5 separate regions of the Homo sapiens genome follow, and regions 2, 3, 4 and 5 are each linked to region 1. Evidence: promoter capture Hi-C in 16 types of primary human blood cells and fetal thymus (Javierre and others, 2016). All regions are on one chromosome and are shown on one strand. The core of a region is centred on a gene start or on the middle of the fragment in contact, and the rest is flanking DNA. Distances in the headings are between cores, read along the strand shown. Region 1 holds the start of SRP68 (signal recognition particle 68). Region 2 overlaps PRPSAP1 (phosphoribosyl pyrophosphate synthetase associated protein 1). Region 3 overlaps UBE2O (ubiquitin conjugating enzyme E2 O). Region 4 overlaps UBE2O (ubiquitin conjugating enzyme E2 O). Region 5 holds the start of PRPSAP1 (phosphoribosyl pyrophosphate synthetase associated protein 1).

What was found. The method cuts DNA at HindIII sites, captures the fragments that hold promoters and counts their contacts. A CHiCAGO score of 5 or more calls a contact.
Region 2: a fragment that was not itself captured here is called in contact with the fragment with the promoter of SRP68 in region 1 in 8 of 17 cell types (M2 macrophages, M0 macrophages, M1 macrophages and 5 more); the score reaches 9.8 in M2 macrophages.
Region 3: a fragment that was not itself captured here is called in contact with the fragment with the promoter of SRP68 in region 1 in 1 of 17 cell types (naive CD8 T cells); the score reaches 5.1 in naive CD8 T cells.
Region 4: a contact is called between a fragment that was not itself captured here and the fragment with the promoter of SRP68 in region 1, in 1 of 17 cell types (M0 macrophages). The highest score is 5.1, in M0 macrophages.
Region 5: a contact is called between a fragment that was not itself captured here and the fragment with the promoter of SRP68 in region 1, in 10 of 17 cell types (M2 macrophages, M0 macrophages, non-activated CD4 T cells and 7 more). The highest score is 11.2, in M2 macrophages.

Annotation. Positions count from the first base shown.
Region 1 is chr17:76,071,132-76,073,831 of GRCh38, forward strand. It overlaps SRP68 (signal recognition particle 68), which reads right to left and starts at 1,386. Exons shown (of 16, transcript NM_014230.4): 1 at 1,177-1,386. The coding sequence starts at 1,360. It also overlaps a transcript of GALR2 not described here. RefSeq lists enhancers at 673-1,500, 1,499-1,548, 1,501-2,328. The HindIII fragment of the contact is 7,541 bases long and covers 712-2,700 here.
Region 2 is chr17:76,328,043-76,330,742 of GRCh38, forward strand. PRPSAP1 (phosphoribosyl pyrophosphate synthetase associated protein 1) reads right to left here. Exons shown (of 10, transcript NM_002766.3): 5 at 2,509-2,624; 6 at 2,001-2,056; 7 at 675-820. Among named protein-coding and RNA genes, the nearest start is that of QRICH2, 21 kb to the left of the region's middle. The HindIII fragment of the contact is 3,381 bases long and covers 1-2,700 here.
Region 3 is chr17:76,394,836-76,397,535 of GRCh38, forward strand. UBE2O (ubiquitin conjugating enzyme E2 O) reads right to left here. Exons shown (of 18, transcript NM_022066.4): 14 at 1,293-1,986; 15 at 890-1,026. Among named protein-coding and RNA genes, the nearest start is that of SPHK1, 12 kb to the left of the region's middle. The HindIII fragment of the contact is 6,073 bases long and covers 1-2,700 here.
Region 4 is chr17:76,441,428-76,444,127 of GRCh38, forward strand. All of the region lies in intron 1 of UBE2O (ubiquitin conjugating enzyme E2 O), which reads right to left. Among named protein-coding and RNA genes, the nearest start is that of UBE2O, 10 kb to the right of the region's middle. RefSeq lists enhancers at 1-141, 1,566-1,685. The HindIII fragment of the contact is 490 bases long and covers 1,109-1,598 here.
Region 5 is chr17:76,351,221-76,353,920 of GRCh38, forward strand. It overlaps PRPSAP1 (phosphoribosyl pyrophosphate synthetase associated protein 1), which reads right to left and starts at 2,696. Exons shown (of 10, transcript NM_002766.3): 1 at 2,314-2,696. The coding sequence starts at 2,483. RefSeq lists enhancers at 1-213, 1,753-1,812, 2,662-2,700 and a silencer at 2,173-2,492. The HindIII fragment of the contact is 1,470 bases long and covers 704-2,173 here.

The DNA.
Region 1 (2,700 bases), core at 136-2,635:
CATTCAGATTCAGGTTATAAATGACATGTACTAAGCCTCCATTTGCATAATCTCCAACACCTGCCAAATCTAACTTTCCTTAACAGCTGTGATGCTTAGAGAGTCTATGATTAGCACATGTCAACCAAGCTAGGCTACAGTTTGCATAAAAGTATTAAGGTTTTTCTTTCAAAAGAAGAATGGCCAGATTCTCCTTTTAATAATCTTAAAATATTTAAGATTATGTACTAATCTTTAGAAAGTCCAATGACCTTCATCTATATAGGTATAGTTTTAATGTTTCCTCAACACTTCTCTAGAGACATATTTTAAAATAGTGAACGCTAAAAGGACTCTTTAAATTACTAAAACGGGACAAAGAGATATAAAGGTCTCAGTAAAATCAGGGCTCGCTAGCGTCTACTTGGAACTATTACCAGTAATTCAAAATATTTAACTCCAAGCGCCTGAGAACTTTAAGCACATTAAGATGTCAAGTTGAATGTGTTATTTCAGAAACTCGCCTACGTTTTCTCCATTTGTTATTCATTTCAAAAGGTCACAAACTAGTACCACAAGCACTTGGTTGAGATACACACTGATGGAAACTAGAAACCGATTCCTCCAGCTTATATGAATGACTGTCAGCAAGATAAAATGCCTACAGACCGATCAGAAAAAAATGACACAATCGATATTAACTACGGTAACTTACAATCAAAATGGGCAACAAGCTTTTCCTGAGTCAATCTTTACCTCCACTTTCAAAGTATCGAGCTGTAGGTTTTACTACTCAGTCTATGACGACTGTCAGACAAGAGTATTAAGCCAAATGTCAAGACTGCAGTTTCCTCTCCCCAGTTCAGTGGCTCAAGGTGCCAAAGCAAGGTGCTCAAGGTGTCACTTGGTCACAAGCCCTCCAACTGGACAACTGCGGGGCACCAGGGGAAACCTGCCTGATATCCCAGTGCCACTGGAAGAAACGGACCTAGCCAGGACGGCGAGGGGGACACGAGGAAAGACTAGTCGAGAGACAGACCCCCCCCGGAATTCTGAGCACCAAAAGGTAAGGGCGAGAGAAACTGCAACCCTCGGCCTCTCCTGCCAGGACTTGTCGGGACCCGCCGCCTCTCCCGCCCCCAGCCCTCCAGTTCGACACGTAATCATTGCGAGTTAGGCCCGATTACTCTAGGATACTCTCCAAACTCAGGCTATCCCCAAATTCTTTGTTTGCCTTCGATCCGGCCGAAGGGCGTTCGTTTTCTTTATTTTCTTCCCCTCCGGCACCACGTCCACCGCCGCTACCGCCGCCGCCACTGCCACCGCCGCCGCCACTGCCGCCGCCGCCGCCGCCGCCTGGGACCTGCTTCTCAGCAGCCATCTTGCCCCTGCGCCGCAGAGCAAGACGGGATAGGGGAGGCGGGACGACCTGGGCGGGTGAGAGCTGGACCTGCCTGGCCGGGCTGATGGGATAGCGGCGGACTCCGCCGCCGTCGGCCCTTGCTGCAGCAGGGCGCCATGTGCTGGAGCGCGCCTGCGCGAGGGATCCTGTCATCCCGGGTCCGGAATTGTGGCTGGCTAGGTGGGGACTTGAGGCCGCAGTGAGACCGTGGCTGCTGAGATCTCAGGGGGCAGTCCCACCTCCCACCCACTAAGGGCGGAGAACCGGAGGTGGACCCCAGGTCCTGCATCCTGGACTGGGGATCTGGTTCACGTCCTGCCCAGCAGAAAGCAGGAGACCAAAGATACTGGATTTCGGGGTGTCTGCATCCCCAGGGACTCAAGAGATGGGGTCCTCCCTACCGGAACGGGACACCCCGTCCGTAAGGGACCCGCCTCTGCCTGCCCTTTCCTCTGAGGCTGGCCGTAAGAACGCCAAGCCGGAGGAAGCGCTGCGCAGTCAGCAGACGGTGTCCTAACGGGGTGACTTTCTCAGACCGCTTGGGGCCGTGGACCACTGCACTTTGGGGCCGTCAGTCCAAAGAGGGAGAAGTGTTGAGACATGGGAAAATATGAATTTTTGCTTTGCACCTTCTAGAGTCTGAGACCTGGGATTCCAATCCCCGCTCCGTCATTAGCGGCAGGGACATGTTGGGCACGTAACTTAATCTCCCTGTAAATCTGTTCCTTCATCTATGAAATGGGGATAACCAATTTAAGTGGTTGTTAGGAAGATTAAATGACGGATTTTTTTTTTTTTTTTAGATAGAGTTTCGCTCTTGTTGCCCAGGCTGGAGTGCAATGGTGTGATCTCGGCTCACTGCAACCTCTGCCTCCTGGGTTCAAGCCATTCTCCTGCCTCAGCCTCCCGAGTAGCTGGGATTACAGGCGCCTGCCACCACGTCCCGCTAATTTTTGTATTTTTAGTGGAGACGGGGTTTCACCATGTTGGTCAGGATGGTCTCGATCTCCTGACCTCGTGATCCGCCCGCCTCGGCCTCCCAAAGTGCTGGGATTACAGGCGTGAACCACCGCGCCCGGCCCTGAACTCTATTTTGAATTTCCTCAAGGTATACGGAATAAGGTCAGGAGAAAAAGAATAAGGATCTGATGCATTCAGATTTAACTAACTCTCCCATACATCTCATTCCTTTCTCAGCAGATCCCTCTTAGAAGGAAGTGTTACCATTTCCTTGTTACAGCTGAGGAAACTGAGGCATGGAGCCAAAGACAGAGCCTGACACAATAGATGCTCAGTATATTGGATTGAATTGGAGGGAA
Region 2 (2,700 bases), core at 141-2,640, 260 kb after region 1:
GAAAACTATCCAGGCATGGTAGTGTACCCCTACAGTCCCAGCTACCCAGGAGGCGGAGGTGGGAGAATCACTTGCGCCCCGGTCAAGGCTGCAGTGAGCCATGACTGTGCCACTGTACAGAGCAACAGGGGGAGATCCTTTCTCAAAAAAAAAAAAAAAAAGGCGGAGGATAGCAAATACCATTCCATTATTAAAAAACAACAAGACAGCATATATCTACATAGTCGATAACTCCTAGCCATTCATACTACTTAAAACTTTCTTCAGGGCCAGGTGCAGTGGCTCATGCCTGTAATCCCAGCACTCTGGGAGGCTGAGGCGAGCAGATCACCAGGTCTGGAGCAGATCACGAGGTCTGGAGTTTGAGACCAGCCTGGCCAACATGGTGAAACCCTGTCTCTACTAAAAATACAAAAATTAGCTGGGCGTGGTGGCACACACCTGTAATCTTTGCCACTCACGAGGCTGAGGCAGGAGAATTGCTTGAACCCAGGAGGCAGAGGTTGCAGTCAGCCAAGATCACGCCACTGCACTCTAGCCTGGGTGACAGAGTGAGACTCCATCTCAAAAACAAAACAAAACAAAACAAAACAACAACAACAAAACCAACAAAACCAACAAAAAAAAACTTTCTTCAATTTACAAATAAAATAAAAACACAGAGCTCATCTTACATGGCAACTCCAGGCCTGGGTGCACAGTAGCATTTTTGACCATAGGCGGGGAGTGACGACCATCGTCCATGTCCAGTTCCGTGCACTGAGCTTCCCCGTGAATGACGGCCAAACCCAGACGCAGTCTCTCCGCATAGGACTGGGCCCTAGAAGGACAAAGGGAAATGGTGAAACTGACAGGAAGAAATCCCACGCATCACTACGGCATCATTTTTTAACCATAAAATGAAAATATTTAACGTTTCAGGGACATACAAAGGCATTATTTATATAAATGAGAATGTGAGGCCCAGGCCAGCATGTAAATGACTCAAAGGGCACGTGAGTTAGGGTTTGGGATTGTATCTGATTCTAGACATTTTTTTTTTTTTTTGAGACAAGGTCTCACTGTCACCCAGGCTGGAGTGCAGTGGCGTCAACATGGCTCACTGCAGCCTCAACCTCCTGAGGCTCAGGTGATCCTCCCACCTCAACCTCCCGAGTAGCGGGGACCACAGGCATGTGTTGCCACAACTGGCTATTTTTTGTATTTTGTAGAGACGGGGTCTATGTTGCCCAGGCTGGTCTTGAACCCCTGGGCTCAAGCGATCTCCCGCTTTGGCCTCCCAAAGTGCTGGAATTACAGGCGTGAGCCACCCCGCCTGGCCCTGATTCTAGATAATTTTGATTCTATCCTTTGTCCAATATTCTGATAGTCATCTTCAGAAGAAAGAACAACGTTAAAAACCATTGCCTGGGCCGGGCACAGTGGCTTACGCCTGTAAACCCAGCACTTTGGGAGACCAAGGCAGACAGATCACTTGAGGTCAGGAGTTCAAGACTAGTCTGATGAACATGGTGAAACCCCATCTCTACTAAAAATACAAAAAACTAGCCAGGAGTGGTGACAGGCGCCTGTAATCCCAGCTACTGGGGAGGCTGAGGCAGGAGAGCTGCTTGAACCCAGGAGGCGGAGGTTGCAGTGAGCCGAGATCGCGCCATTGCACTCCAGCCTAGGTGACAGAATGAAACTCCATTTCAAAAAAAAAACAAAAAAAAAAACCATTGCTTGAAAAATGCTCATAGCCTCATTGCTTTCCTTTCTCTGAGAACTTGAAGGAACTTTGTTTTCCCAGAGGAAAGCTGAGCAACTCAGCGATCATGTGTGCTGTCTGGAGGCTGGAGATAAAGCTGTGTGTGGCATGGGACATGACAACGATGGAGGGGTTAACATGAGAGCCAGTGGGCTTTCAAAGGCCACGAGTGACAGCCTCTGGATTCCAAAGCAGCTCATTCTGACTTCGGGAGCACTCAGGAGGGATCAGGACCCATGTCTAGCTTACTTACCTCTTTGCAGCATCAGGAGACTTAGCTACAATGACTGCATTTCTGTAATTTGGAATCTAGATTTGAAGGAAAAATAGAAAATACTGAAAAGTTATCAGAAAATAACACCTGGATGCTGGTATTCAAGTTTTCCCTCTTATAATGATCCAAACTAGTCATCAAATATGCTAGAATTTTAGTCACAAGTTTTAGATTTTTCAATATTTATCAATTAACATCACTGGAAAAAGCACTCCTACGTCAAGAATTTTTTAAAAATAATTCTTAAAACATTCATTTTAGAAAACATAAGCAAATTGCTAAAGATACGTAGAAAAAAAATCTGTTTTTAGTGTCTTTTAAAGCTATGATCGTCCACGACTAAAGCTGACCCTGTCTGCTGCCTCAGGCATTGTGACTTAAGGGAGAGCTCATTTGATGTGCCTTCCAGTAACGAAATCTGATACCAGAGAAAAACTAAATAAGATCTCTTTTGAGGACAATGGGGTGTTTGCTGGTGGTTCCTCACTTCTTCCTGGATATACTGAAGCAGGAAAGGTGAGGCTCTAAGGTTGTCCACAGGAAAGCTGAAAAAGCCTTGTATTTCCTTTTGATGAAGATCCATAGTGATAATGTGAGTTAAACCTGAAATTTTAAAACAAAAAATTACAAAGTTCACCCCTACAGGTAAATGGCTACAGTGGACCTAAACTAGATGCTC
Region 3 (2,700 bases), core at 106-2,605, 320 kb after region 1:
AAGTAGGCTTGAGGAGTAATCATAATATAATTAATTTCAAAGTAATTTTTTTTTTTTTGAGATGAAGTCTCGCTCTGTTGCCCAGGCTGGAGTGCAATGGTGCGATCTTGGCTCACTACAACCTCTGCCTCCCAGGTTCAAGTGATTCTCCTGCCTCAGTCTCCCGAGTAGCTGGGATTACTGGCACCCGCCACCACATCCGGCTAATTTTTGTATTTTTAGTAGAGACAGGGTTTCACCGGGTTGGTCAGGCTGGTCTCAAACTTCTGACCTCAGGTGATCCACCTGCCTCGGCTTCCCGAAGTGCTGGGATTACAGTCGTGAGCCACCGCACCCGGCCTATTTCAAAGTAATTTTTTTTTTTGAGACAGAATCTCGCTCTGTCACCCAGGCTGGAGTGCAGTGGCGTGATCTCGGCTCACTGCAAGCTCCACCTCCCAGGTTCACGCCATTCTCCTGCCTCAGCCTCCAGAGTAGCTGGGACTACAGGCGCCCGCATGGTGGCGGGAGAGTTTTTTGTAATTTTTTTTTTTTTTTTAGTGGAGACGGGGTTTCACTGTGTTAGCCAGGATGGTCTCGATCTCCTGACCTCGTGATCCACCCACCTCGGCCTCCCAAAGTGCTGGGATTACGGGTGTGAGCCACTGCGCCCGGCCGAGAAAGTAATTTTTTAAAGGAGGGAGGAAAGAAAGAACCATCTGGCCTGGACACACGGCTGAGTCAGCCCTCACCTGACTGAGCCTGTGACCGCCCCTGTAAAAGGTGGGTGGGTGAGTGTCCTCGCAGGTGCCAGTCAGCCCCGGAGGTTTGGGGACCCAAGGTTGGTGGCCTCTTGGGCACTGGGTGCCCACACAGCACATCTGCACCTGCCCATGCCAAGCCTACTTGCCATTCTATCTTCAAAAGTCTTGACCATGATGCCCTCAGGCAGTGAGGTAGCCAGCAGCGCCATCTCCTTCCGCACTGTGCTGAAGAACTTCTTGGCTTCTGGAGGCTGGAACTCAATTTTCTTAAAAGAATGATTTGCTAGAGGGGGGAAGAGAATAGTCAGTCCCTCATGGAGAGGCCCTGGAGCTCCATCTGCCAACCTGGCTGGACAGGTGAGCACACCCACAGACTTCCCACTCGCCGCTGCTGGCCTCAGCACTGTGACCACACAGGGAAATGGTTTGCCCTGGGGCAGTAGCTGGGGTCTGGCGAGGGGACTAACCACCCTGCACCCAGATCTGGTGACACAAACAGGAGCCCCGAGAAGGCGGGGGAAGGCGAAGACCAGGCAAGGGCTGACTCACAGGGTGCAAACTCCAGTACGGAGAAGACCTCGCCCTTGGCGCTGGTGAAGGTGACGCCAGGCTTGCCGCCACACTGCTGGCACAGCACCGGGGTTTCGCTGGGCCACTCAGCCTTCACAGGTGACTGCCCCTCGGGCTTGTCCTCCTTGCGCTCTACGTCGGGCACTGCTTCCATCTTCTCCTCCTCTACAATGGCCACATTGTCCAGGGTCTTCTTGAGGTTTTCCTGTAGCTTCTTGATGTCATCCAGAAACTTCTTCTCCCGAGTTGGCTTCTCAGGCTCCACAGTCGGAGAGGTGGGCGAGCCCGTCAGCAGCTGCTCCACAGTCATGTTCTTGAGGCTCTCCAGGATCTTGATGGCCTCTTTCAACTCCCGGAAGCTCTTGGGTGGCCCGTCCTTGCCAGCCTTCTCCATCAGCCCGGCCATGGGGGCAGCCATGGCCACAGCCCCCTGGACGGCAGCTGTGGCTGCCTCTTCACTGATCACCACTCCCTTGTCCTCAGGGGCCACCGGCTGCTCCAGGGGTGGGATGGGGGGCTCCTCTATCTTGGGGTGCTCGTCCTCCACCAGCCCATTGTCCGTCTCCCAGCTGTCACTATCATCTTCCCATTCATCCGAGGATGCCCCGCTGGTGCTGCCTTCTACCGAATCGTAGTCTGACTCCTCAATCTCAGACTCTATGTTGTACAAGTGCTGGGGGCAGAAGGGAAGTGCCAGGGTAAGCAGACAGGAAGTCACCTCCCCACCACTAAGGAGGAGCTCTGGGGATCCCTGATCCGCACAGCTGATGGCGACTGGGCTCATGAGGCCTTGGCAACCTCATTCCACCCTTTCCCTGACCTCTGCTCTGGCTTTTGCAGTCCCTAGGTCTCTGGGAGAGGCCCTTCACCTGTCCCACCCTCCAGCTGGACCCAAAGCCCCAGCCAGTGGTCTGTTCCAGCCTCTCCTCCTGCTCTGTGCACTTCGTCAGCATCTGTCCAAGGCGTTAGGGGACCTTGGCAGGCCCAGTCCCACACCTGAAAAGCGCAGGGTCAGCTAATGATGCAGCCAAGGAGGCCTGTGTGGGGAGCTGGGAACATATGACAAGAGGGGACATGTAGAAGGGCCGACATATCCTGCTGCGTTCCCTGGAATGGCCGTTAAGGTGATGGGGCAAGCCATTCCCGCCCCCACTCCTGCCCCCTGTGTGGACCAGGAGAGGAGAGCTGGGCTGTGTGGCTCCAACCAGGAGGCGAGGGAAGGAGAGCCCGTGTAGCCCTTCTGCTCAGGACCCAGCAGGTGGGGCTAGAACTGGGTCGGCTCTCTCCTTTCTCTCCTTCTCTGTTAGAGCTTTCTAAAAAGGGTGGTAGGAAAGTCTCCATCTCCTTTTAGGAGGGAACTTGCATTCTTCGTAGCATAGTGAGCTGA
Region 4 (2,700 bases), core at 104-2,603, 370 kb after region 1:
CGCCTCATCCCTTTCCTGCCCCTCCTGCAGCCCACCTTTGGACAATTCCCGGTTCATTAACACTGGCACTAGAAGAATAAGCAGAGGGGAGAGAAAAAGCCTCGAACCAAAGACGTACTAAAACTGAACCCATTGACATCAACGAGGTTTGGAAGGGCCCATATAAGTGCAATTCAAAAGACAGTCCCAGCCAGCAGCATCAATGTCACTGGGAGTTTGTTAGACACGCAGATTCTTCAGCCCAATGGAATTAGGACAATTTGCATTAGGAGACCCTAGGTGATGGCATGTGGCATTCACCTTGGAAAAGTGCTGGATTAGAATCCATTTATTCATGCTCTCTTCACTTCCCCCTCCCCCTCCACTGATAAACAGGGGTGGTTATATCTACTTTCAATAGATGGTTCCTGACTCCTTCAAAGTAATAGGCCTGGCATAGCCACTGCAACTCCAGGCCCCGCCCCCAAGGGTCTTGGTGCAGGCAGAGTGCATAGCCTAAGCTGCGTTCCTGATTCATTTGCAGTCGGGTGGGGCATTCTTTTTCCAATAGAGAGCCTCGTTCGTACTTAGCCATCCTCCTAAGGTGAGGACTGGGTGCTGATAACCATTCAGGAAACCCACGTGTGTGGAATCTGCCATTTGTCAAGTGCTTTAGGCGGGGTTCTTACAGGGGAAATGCAGCCAGAAGCAGCTTCATTTCGACCACAGGTGACACCAGCTCTAGCTAGCTCTAGCCTAGTCCACAATGCACGTAGTCTGCCTGGGGAGCCCGCGACGGAAGTTGCCAAAGTAGTAACTACAATATGGTGTATTCTGATTAATCTGCTCTTCCTAGTATTAGGATGCCCATACGTCCCAGTCCTGGAGTAATTATTCATAGTACTCTCAAAAGAACCCAACTTGGGCAATAAATTACTGTACATGGTCAACACACCTAGTACGGGGGGTGGGAGACAGAGTGGTCTAGTAAGGGGCCCATACAGCTCCAGCACAGACCACAGGGCATCTGGAAGAAGACTAAGAATACTATTTGTAGTAAGTGGGAGGGAGCAAACTGGTCATTCATGAAGATGTTTCCCAAGAGTCTGCATGTGCGTGATAGCACACAAGCTTTAGGATTTGCTGTCTCTGTTTCTCAAGGAGCTTCCCATCCAGGAGAGAATGTGGGTGTGCCATGGGGCATGAGAGGAAGGGAACGGCACAATTGAGTTGGGGAAAAGCAGTCAGATTGGCTGGAATCAACTGAAGAGGCAGGAGATAGAGCAGGATGTGTAGGTGAGGGGCCCTGAATGACAACCAAGGCATGATCAGAGGCTGGGTCCTGACACAATCCAGGCGATCACTTGGGAGGTCAGCCCTTTGGAGGTCAGTTGGCGGCAGCGCTGTTCACTGGTTGAAGGAGGACTAGAGGCAGGGAGACCAGGGAGAAGGCTACACAGTGCAGGCATGAGGCAAGCAGAGAGCAAACCAGGGTTGTGAAAGGGAAATGCAGGCACAGGATGCAAGAGGCCTCTCAAAGAACTGATGACAAGTTAGAATGAGGGCCAAAGAAGGTAAATTAAAAATGACCCCAAATGCTCTAATTTTGAGAAGATTCAAGCTTAGGTATTTAGGGGTGAAGTGCTATCATGTCTGCCACTAACTTAGCAGGAGTTAGTACCAGACATAATTCAGGAGGAAATATATTTACATAAGCATACAGATAAGGCAAATATGGCAGGATGTTAACAACTGCTGACTCATAATGGTTGGGGGTTAGCAATTACTGGCTTTCAACATTTTGGTATGGTCAATATTTTTTCCTATTAAAAAGTTGGGTCTTGGGTTCAGAACCAAAAACAAAAAAAGTTGGGGAATATATATATATATTTTTTTCCTCGAGAAAGAGTCTCACTCTGTCGCCCAGGCTGGAGTGCCGGGGCACGATCTCGGCTCACTGCAACCTCTGCCTCCTGGGTTCAAGCAATTCTCCTGCCCTAGCCTCCCGAGTAGCTGGGATCACAGGCACCCACCACCACGCATGGCTAATTTTTGCATTTTTAGTAGAGATGGGGTTTCACCATGTTGGCCAGGCTGGTCTCGAACTCCTGACCTCAAGTGATCCACCCACCTCGGCCTCCCAAAATGCTGGGATTACAGGCGTGAGCCACTGTGCCCAGTCAGAACATTTTTTTTTTTTTTAAGTCCACAGACTTGGGGATGGGAAGGGCAGTCACAATCACAAGATTTTATACCCACAAAGTCTACATGGCACAATGGAGCTATCAAGTAAGCAGCTGGGCATGTGATGTCACTGTGGAAGTCACCTAAATACAGGTACCAGATGCAGCTACAAGCAGGGAGGTCACTCCAAAAAACTGGGGAGGAAGAGATAAAGAAAAGAGAGGTCTTTGGAAAAGCTGCACATCTATGGGTAAGAGGAAGAAGACAAAAGGCAAAAAAGAGAAACATTTGGTATAGTCTGGTATAATAGAACCCCAAGGAAGGAAATACCGTTAAGAGGGCATGGTCGGCCAGGCGCGGTAGCTCATGCCTGTAATCCCAGCACTTTGGGAAGCTGAGGCGGATGGATCACCTGAGGTCAAGAGTTCGAGACCAGCCTGACCAATATGGTGAAACCCCGTCTCTGCTAAAAAGACAAATATTACTCGGACGTGGTGGCGGGAGCCTGTAATCCCAGCTACTTGGGAGGCTGAGGCA
Region 5 (2,700 bases), core at 189-2,688, 280 kb after region 1:
AACTAGCCAGGTGTGGCCGGGCGCGGTGGCTCACGCCTGTAATCCCAGCACTTTGGGAGGCCGAGGCGAGTGGATCACGAGGTCAGGAGATTGAGACCAACCTGGCTAACACAGTGAAACCCGTCTCTACTAAAAATACAAAAAATTAGCTGTGCGAGGTGGCGGGGGCCTGTAGTCCCAGCTACTCGGAAGGCTGAGGCAGGAGAATGGCGTGAACCCTGGGGGCGTAGCCTGCAGTGAGCCGAGATCGCGCCACTGCACTCCAGCCTGGGCGACAGCGAGACTCCGTCTCAAAACAAAAAACAAAAAACAAAAAACTAGCCAGGTGTGGTGTCGGGCATCTGTGATCCCAGCTACTTTCGAGGCTGAGGCAGGAGAATCGCTTGAACTTGGGACGTGGAGGTTGCAGTAAGCCGAGATGGCACCACTGCACTCCAGCCTGGGTGACACAAGACTGTCTCAAAATAAATAAAACAGATAAGATAAAACAAAATCTTACTGAGCGACAAGTAAAACAGGTAAGGGAAGTATTTATGAATATGTATCATTTATAGTAATTCAAAATCTTTCGGGAATTTGCCAGGAAAGAATCTAAAACAAACAAACAAAAAAAACCCTCACTGACTTTTAAAATGTGCCCTGCTCCCCTCTGCTCTCCCTCAAGGTCAGGTAGGGTAAATCTGAACCACTAGATACACACAGAAGCTTCGTTTAAAGTCAGTGTTTTCGTTGGCCTCAGAAAGAAAGACAAACAATCAGGGGTTAGAAATAGAAACTAGGTAGTAGACTGCAAAAGGATTGATTTGTTTTTTTAACATTCTTCCACTCTCCAAAACTCCAACTATTAAAAAAAAAAACAAGCAGAGCTGAAAAAAAAATGACTAAAGTTTTCCCTTTCTTCTACATTTCCCCCCAGAAGTTTAAGATATATCCCTGCAATCATTTGTCAACCCTAAAAAAGTAACGAAGTAACTCTATGAAAACTGTTTAAAATGTGAAAATGGCTTTAAATATTAAAAGACGAGCTATTCATTTTATGTCTTAGATTTCTAACAAGTGTATGTAGAAAGGGCATATAAGGCTCCTCCTTTATATCAGAGCTCTGGGATTCTCCAAAAGAGCCAACTAGAAAAGAGGCCATTTCACCGGGCGCGGTGGCTGAAGCCTGTAATCCCAGCACTTTGGGAGGCCGAGGCGGGCGGATCACGAGGTCAGAAGATCGAAACCATCCTGGCTAACACGGTGAAACCCAGTCTCTACTAAAAATACAAAAAATGAGCCGGGTGTGGTGGCGGGTGCCTGTAGTCCCAGCTACTTGGGAGGCTGGGGCAGGACAATGGCGTGAACCCGGGAGGCGGAGCTTGCAGTGAGCCGAGATCTCGCCACTGCACTCCAGCCTGGGTGACAGAGCGAGACTCCGTCTCAAAAAAAAAAAAAAAAAAAAAAAGAAAAGAAAAAGAAAAAGAAAAGAGGCCACTTAGTAAACAACTATTCAGAGGGCCACTATGAGCCCCTACTCTGCTAGAACCAGATACTACTTCTACATTATCCCGATCATACAATATTCTCAACCATGCCCATTTCACAGATGAGGTTCAGGGAAATCAAGTCTCTTGCCCACTGACACAGAGCTAGTAAGTGGCAAGGCTGGGAGGGCATCTCAGAGCTGTCAGACCCCAAAGGCGACTTAAGACCAGGGGCTTGGTTGGGTTAAAGACACAAATGACTGATCTTATCCCAAGCTGATTTACAAAGCAGGGTCAGGCCTGTCATTTCTACCACCAGCTCCGGCCCATCTGCCTCCCTGGAATTGCCTTCTTCGCACTGCCAGTCCCCACACCTTTGCTCTGCGACCGCACCTGCCGCGTCGGATCCCCCAACTCACAACCACGCCCGCGGGTCTCACTGCAGTGAGACTTGAGAGTGGCGGCGGTCAGATTCCCAGGTCAACTCCAGCCGTGGGAAAGGAAGCCAAGCCCTGAGCCCCTTTCCCCAAGACACGCACTCCGGGGCTCCAGAAAGCTCGGCCCGCCCCGGGGTGTGGGACTGCGGAGACGAAAGGCAGGCAGGCCGCGGACCCAGTCACGGGGCGGGGGGCTGAGGTCACCGAGAGTCCGCCCCAAGCCTCCCAGCTGCAAAACCGGGGAGCGGGGGGCGGTATCCGTCACCTCCAAGCTTTGTCCGGCTGGGAAGGCCCGCGCCTCCCGCCCCAGGTGCAGGAGGTGGGGCGGGTGGAGGGGAGCGGGTCCCTCCGGGCGCGAAGGAGAGCTAGGCGCCGCCGCCCCCGGCCCGGCCCTCCCACCGCCCCCTTACTCTGTGATGCGCTTGGCCAGCTCCGTGCAGGCGGCCGTGGAGTTGGCCGAGAAGACTCGGTAGCCGGTGCGAGCGGCGTTCATGGCCGGCGGGGGAACGGGGCGGGCGCGCGGGACGCGGAAAGCCGAGGACGCGGAGGGCGGGGGCAACAGCAGCAGCTTCTTGGGCATCGTCCGGCCCGCGGCGCGGTTACGACCGGCCCCGCGCGGGGCTGCACTCTGAGTGCTTCCGACTGCGAGACCCCGGTTTGGGTGGGGAAGGCGCTGAGAAACTCGGCGCAAGCGGGGAGAGCTCCGAGGTCCGTGCCCTTGCGCACCCCACACCACTGACTACAGCGGCCGAGCCTTCGCAGCGCCCGGCGCCGCCGCCTCAGAGCCAGAGGCAAGG